2 separate regions of the Homo sapiens genome follow, and region 2 is linked to region 1. The links are contacts of gene promoters, found by promoter capture Hi-C in blood cells and fetal thymus (Javierre and others, 2016). All regions are on one chromosome and are shown on one strand. Each heading gives the region's core, a stretch centred on a gene start or on the middle of the fragment in contact. The rest is flanking DNA. Distances are from core to core; before and after follow the strand shown.

Region 1 (3,479 bases), core at 191-2,690:
TTTGCACTTTTTGTAGACAGGGTTTCACCATGTTGCTCAGCCTTGTCTCGAACTCCTGGGCTCAGGCAATCTGCCCGCCTTGCCTCCGAAAGTACTGGGATTACAGGCGTGAGCCACTGCACCCAGCCTAGGATTTGTGTCCTTTATCAGACACGGGCTGCATTTGCCATTGCTCCCAGCATAGAGTTGAAGCGCCACTAGTGAAAGACACATGCATGGGTGAGGGCTGGAAGGGACTCTAGAACACAATATGAGTACACGACCTTGGACCCAAGACACACATGTGTGCGTACACACACACACCATACACACCCCTCAGAATGTGTCTCCCGCACACACACCTCAAAACACCCCTAAGAACCAACCGGAACATACACACTACACAATACACACAGAATACACACAGCATACACACACCCCCCTCGGAATGTGTTCCCACACACGAACCTCAAAATACCCCTAAGAGCCCACCTGAACATACACCACACACACACAGAACCCAAGAACTGCACCAACCCCCCTCCTCAGAACCCAGTGCCTCCTCACCATCCCCCAGGACCCAGTGCCCTCCCAACCCCCCAGGATCCAGCATTCGCTTATCCCCTTCAGAACCTTGCACCCTCACCCCGCAGGACCCAGAGCCCCCTCACCTCCACCAGCACCTGGTGACGCCTCAAACCCCCCAGGACCCAGCACACCTCAGCCCGTGGTGTCCCCTTATCCCACTCAGGACCTGGTCCCCCTCTCTCCCCTAGGACCCAGGGTCCCCTCACCCCCCAGAAGCTGTTGCCCTATCACCCCCAGGACCCGACGGCCCCTTACCCCCAGGACCTAGTGTCCCTCAACCCCAGGACCCGGCACCCCCTCAACCCCCAGGACCTGATGCTCCCCCAACCCCTCAGGAGCCGGGGCCCCCTCACCCCCAGGACCCGGCACCCCCTCAACTCCCAGGACCTGGTGCTCCCCCAACCCCTCAGGACCCGAGGCCAACTCAACCCCAGGACCCAGTACCCCCTCAACCCCTCAGGACCCGGGGCCCGCTCGCTCACCCACCCAGGACCCGGCGGCCGCCACACGCACTCTCGCTCCCGCAGCTCCTCTGGTACCCGCCCTCGTACCTGGCGCATCTGGGCCTCGGCGGCGCCGCCCTCCTGCCTTCGCAGCTGCTCCCGGAAGCGCGCAACCTGCTCCAGCAGCGCGTCCACTAGGGACGGCGCGGCGTCCCCCTCCAGCGCGGCCAGGCGGGCGCGGAGGCGAGCGATGAGGGCGTCGCGGGCAGCGAGCTGGTCCTGCAGGCGGCGCAGCCGCTGTCCGGCCTCGTGGTACAGGGTGCAGAGCGCGGCAGCTGCGCGCGGGGCCTCCTCCCAGCCGCCCGACCCCGGGTCCCGGGACATGGCTGTAGGCCCGCCCGGGAGGCCGCGCGGCCGCCGGCAACTTCCGCGCCCGGGCCCCGCCGGCTGCCGCCCTTCCCGGAACTTTCCCCGGTGCGCCCCGCCCACCCACAACAGCCCGGCCCCGCCCTCCCCCACGCAGCCCCGCCCCCCGCGCAGCCCCGCCCTTCCCCGCGCAGCCCCGCCCGACGGCAGCCCGCCCAGCCCCTTCTCGCCCGGCCCCACCCCTCCCACCGCCTACAGCCCGGCCCCGCCCCTGCCGTCCGCACCCGTCCGGGAGAGTTGGCCTGGCCCCCGAGGCTGTCCACACCCCAGCTGGTGCTGGGCTTATTCCAGTGGCCCCAAACATCCGCCTCTGAGGAGTTGTCGGAGAGTCGAACTCAGCCCAGGAGTTTGGGGATTCATCAGCCTCTGATGGAAAGGAAGGGCTTAACGACAACCCCCAAGCTCTGGAGCTAAGTGTGGGTCTGAATCTCCCCGCGAGGGTCCAGGCCTTGCGGCCACAGCAGCAACAGAAGCTCCAGGAGCTGAGCTCGCAGCGCACCAAGCACGTGGCATGTGTTCCGTCACCTGGGGACACTGAGCCCAGAAAGAGCTCCAACCCCCTGCCCCGCACGCCGCTTTCTTTTTTCTTTCCTTTTTTTTCTTCTTTTTGAGACGGAGTTTCGCTCTGTTGCCCAGGCTGGAGTGTAATGGCGCGATCTCGGCTCACTACAACCTCCGCCTCCCAGTTTCAAGCGATTCTCCTGCCTCAGCCTCCTGAGTAGCTGGGATTACAGGCGCCCGCCACCATGCCCTGCTAATTTTTTGGTATTATTAGTAGAGATGGTGTTTCACCATGTTGGCCAGGCTGGTCTTGAACTCCTGACCTCAGGTAGATCCACCGGCCTCAGCCTCCCAAAGTGCTGGGATTACAGGCGTCAGCCACTGCAGACGCTGCTTTGTAAGGTGGCTAGTATGGGCCCACGGGACAACCTTCCTGCTAGATGCTGTTCTTATATAGCAGAAGCAGCAGGAAACCAGCCCCTTCCCACCCTTTCGCTTTTCCATCCCTTTCCTTCCCCAAAATTCCCAGACAAACGCTAGTGTTTTTCCACAGCCCAGTCTTCCCCACAATGATGCCCAAGCACACATGGGGTCTTTCCAAGGTTCCCTACTCAGGATAGGGCAGGGGTCTTCCCTGTGTGTGCACTTGCCCACAGGCTCCGCCCCTGAGCAGCTTCTTGACTTTCTTCCCTTATGTGATCCACAGCCAAGCCTGAGCTGAGCCTGGGAAAACACAAGCTTGTAGAATCAGACAAGCCTATAAGCAAAGCCAGAGCCACCCAAGTGCTTATGGCCCGGACATTGGGCTACACAGGCCTGGCTTTGCTATGGAAGGCTCCTTCTTACTCATCAGAGCCTGGGCTTCCTCTCAGCAGAAGGAAGGGCAGAGCGAGTGCCCACCCTACCTGGTTGGGCTGTTGTGGGGACTAGAGGGTGGAGTGTGCATGGAATGCTTGTCCAGTGCAGTGGCTGCTGCACAGCAAGCCTACAGTCCCCATGGCTATGGTTACAAACAATGCCTATTGATTGTCTGGGGCATGAGTGGAAAAAACAAAACTGGACCCAGAGCTGTTAGAGGCTAATGTGTGGCCTGGGGCACGTCATTCCAGTGACCTACCTTGAGCCTCTGCCTCAACTGTAAAAGGTGCATGTGACAATCCACAGTCTCTCATCCAACAACAGCCTTGGGGTCAGGTGTGGTGTATTGTATTGTATTGTACTGTACTGTATCGTATTGATTTATTTTAGACGGAGTCTCAATCTGTCGCCCAGGCTGGAGTGCAGTGGTGTGATTTTTGGCTCATTGCAACCTCCGCCTCCCAGGTTCAAGTGATTCTCCCACCTCAGCCTCCCAATTAGCTGGGATTACAGGCGCCCGCCACCACGCCTGGCTAATTTTTTGTATTTTAGTAGAGACGGGGTTTCACCATATTGGTCAGGCTGGTCTCGAACTCCCGGCCTCAAGTGATCCGCCTGCCTCGGCCTCCCAAAGTGCTGGGATTGTAGGCGTGAGCCACCACGCCAGGCCGCCATGTGTATTTT
Region 2 (3,284 bases), core at 697-3,196, 350 kb after region 1:
CTCTCTCCGCTTGCAATTCCTGCTTTGCTCGCATCTCACTTATGCAGTGACGTATATCAGTTTCACCTTGTTCTCCGTGCCTGCTGATCATTGGCACCACTTGCATGGTGCCATTTAGGGCCTGCTTCCAGTTAAGCTTGCTTCTCCACAGGCCTAAATATCCTTGCTTGCTTCTTTTATTCTCACTGGCAGGACCAGGGCGGTCTGTCTTTGCATGAGACAGGGTCTCGCTCAGTCACCCAGGCTGGAGTGCAGTGGCTGATCACGGCTCATTGCAGCCTTGAGCTACCGGGCTCAAGCTATCCTCCTGGCTTGGCCCCTTGAGTAGCTGGGACTACAGGCGTGCACCACCATGCCCAGCTAATTTTTAAAATTATTTGTAGAGATGGGATCTCGCCAGGTTGCCCAGGCTGGTCTTGAACGCCTGGGCTCAAGTGATCCTCCCTCCTTGGTTTCCCAAAGTGCTGGGATCACAGGTGTGAGCCACTGTGCCTGGCCCTTGATGTTTCAGTTCTTGATATTTGATCCTCAGAGTCAGAAAATCTAAAAAGAGGGCTATCCCAGGTTGCCTTGGTTCATGGCAAATGGGACGTTAAGAGGGCAGAGAGAATATGAACAGAAACTGTTCTAATATTGGTCATTTAATGTGTAAGTATTGTTCTTTTTTAAACCTCCTTCATTTTTTTTCCAGGAATTGCTGGACACAGTGGCTTGGTGTGTGTCTGAGGACTGTAGGCCATGGCCCTAGGTTGTGGTTTTAGGTCTCAGGTGCTCTTCCTGGCTGTCTCCTTGCTTCTTTCCCATGTCCTCTTCTTTGTTTCCAGCCATTTCTCCCTTATGCTTAAGTTTGGTGCAGCAGGGTTTGGCTGCTCTCAGATTCCTGCTTCCTCAGATGCTGTAGTTGTCAGGCCCAGCGGGCTGGCAGCGGGATCAGGATCTGGCTAGGTTTGCTCTCACTGTGGCAGAGTAGGGGGAGGCGTGGGAGAGCACGTGTGACCCCAGGCCAGCTGTAGGGAGCATAGGCATGGTCACGTAGCCTTCAGGTCCTAGACTTTGTCTTCTCATGAGTATGGCTGTGTGTGTATGGTGAAAACTAGGTTCTACTTAGCCCAAGAAAATGGGCACATTTTGCATGTGGTTTCTGTAGAGAAATGCACTGGGTATCTGACATAGCCTGGCAGCATGCCTCCCTCAGGTAGGTTAGTCTCAGGCGGTGAAGCACGTGTGTCCAGCAAGAACTTCATATGTGGCATAAAGTCTCCGTTCTGTGAGGTGCTGGCAAATCACCACCACCGTCAAGAGGCTGAAGTGATTTTTGTCTAGGGAGGCAGGAAAGGCTTCCTGGAGTCAGCAGCCAGTAGGTGAAAGAGTAGATTGGAGACCTTCTTAATCATCACCGCCTCTTGTCTCAAGGGGTGCCAGGAAGCTGTGGAGGCTGAACCCATCTTATGCTGCCAGAGAGTGGGACACCATGAGGGTCAGGTCAAGGGGTTGTACCTTGTTTGGTAGAGAATTAGGGGCTCTTGAAGACTTTGGATGTGGTCAGGGGAGTGTATCATTTAGGAAGAGTGACCCGGTGAGGACGTGGGGTAGAGGAGGACAGGTGGGAGGGAGTCCAGGTGGGAGTGAGTAGACCCAGCAGGAGTGCAGGGCCTCGAGCCAGGATGGTGGCAGGGCTGTGAGGAGAGGCAGCCACCTGTGTGTCTGCGGAAGCAGGGGCAAGAGGGAAGAGGCCAGCAGCGTGCTGCCATCACCCAGCGACTGGCGTAGATTGTGAGAGACCATTCCCTGCTCTTAGGAGGGGCTGAGTTTTAGTTTTCTCTTGTTATACAATAAGCTTGGTATTTGTTTACAAAACATTTGTAAAGCTAAATCAAGGTTTGATAAGGCTTCTAGTTTTATTTAAGAAGTAATGTTGAAATAAATGTTTGTCCAATTCGCTTTGCTCATTTAAGGACTTTCAGTACAAACTGCAACAACAGGATTAGGATTTAAACGTTTCTGAGATGTTTTTACTCCTCAGAATTTCCCAGAATGTGATCTGGTTTTGATTTTCAAGCTTGCTGACCCAATAGGTTAACCCACAAGTTTTACGAAGACCATCTCAGTCCACTTACATCAACTGCCCATGCCACGGTTAAAGAGATCATCGACTGATGTTTGGCACAGCTTCCTCCCTCTTGGGTGGGCAAGCATTTGGAAGAGAAGGCTCCTATGGGTGAGAGTGGGGCACCAAAGTCTTCCCTGTCCCATCCCCTAGCTTGAGAAGCCCTTCTCTAATGTGGACTTTGTGCCGTTAGCATCGTTACTAGCTTGAAGTTGACCATCTGGACGTACTTTCTGGTTTAGCCTCACAAGTGAGCAAGGAGGGTTGAGAGATGTGCTGTGAGGAATGTGGGGCCCCAGCTGGCAGCAGGCTCTGGGTCAGGGGGGCAGGGACCACGGGCATACCTGACAGTGAGGAGGGGCCACACCTGCAGAAAAGGATGCAGGACTCCGCCTTGGGAAGTGTTCTAGGCCAGAGCGAGGGTCTGTGGTTTATAAGTACACCCACAGTGCTCGGGACCCTGCAGATGTCCAGGGTGCCGTCTGAGCCCGTATCATCCAACAGAATGTTCTGCTAGTGAAGATTAAAGATTTACTCCAGGGGCTTTAGGATTTATTATATATATATAAATCCTATATATATAATTTTTTTTTTTTTTTTTTTTGAGATGGAGTTTCGCTCTTGTTGCCCAGGCTGGAGTGCAATGGCGTGATCTTGGCTCACTGCAACCTCCGCCTCCCGGGTTCAAACTATTCTCCTGCCTCAGCCTCTCGAGTAGCTGGGATTACAGGCGCCCACCACCACACCCGGCTAATTTTTGTATTTTTTAGTAGAGACGGAGTTTCTCCATGTTGGTCAGGCTGGTCTTGAACTCCTGACCTCAGGTGATCTGCCCGCCTTGGCCTCCCAAAGTGCTGGGATTACAGGCATGAGCCACCCCACCTGGCCAGGATTTATTGTATTTGAACCATCTACCATTTTAATTTTGATGTTATGTAGTATTTGATGATAATGAAAGTTAAATTGTTTTTCTTTCCATTTTTCTGTTTAAGTGAATGACCTGTATCTAGTTTATTCAGTAACTTCCTGCATATATTTGTTTCTTTCATTCTTAATGAATATATTCTTAATTTAGTTGCTATTATGTTTTGCTTTGCCCCAAAATTGAAATCTTAGTTTCCTTTTAGCTCGTTTTAGAACTAGTGATGGGATGTGTCTTCCATAAATCTCTTGTGAT

Evidence for each region. The method cuts DNA at HindIII sites, captures the fragments that hold promoters and counts their contacts. A CHiCAGO score of 5 or more calls a contact.
Region 2: a contact is called between a fragment that was not itself captured here and the fragment with the promoter of TNIP2 in region 1, in 1 of 17 cell types (naive B cells). The highest score is 5.0, in naive B cells.

Annotation. Positions count from the first base shown.
Region 1 is chr4:2,754,896-2,758,374 of GRCh38, forward strand. It overlaps TNIP2 (TNFAIP3 interacting protein 2), which reads right to left and starts at 1,441. Exons shown (of 6, transcript NM_024309.4): 1 at 1,119-1,441. The coding sequence starts at 1,394. RefSeq lists silencers at 984-1,043, 1,064-1,583, 1,764-1,903. The HindIII fragment of the contact is 7,310 bases long and covers 1-2,673 here.
Region 2 is chr4:3,100,531-3,103,814 of GRCh38, forward strand. The region is part of intron 3 of HTT (huntingtin); the gene reads left to right. Among named protein-coding and RNA genes, the nearest start is that of HTT, 27 kb to the left of the region's middle. The HindIII fragment of the contact is 222 bases long and covers 1,836-2,057 here.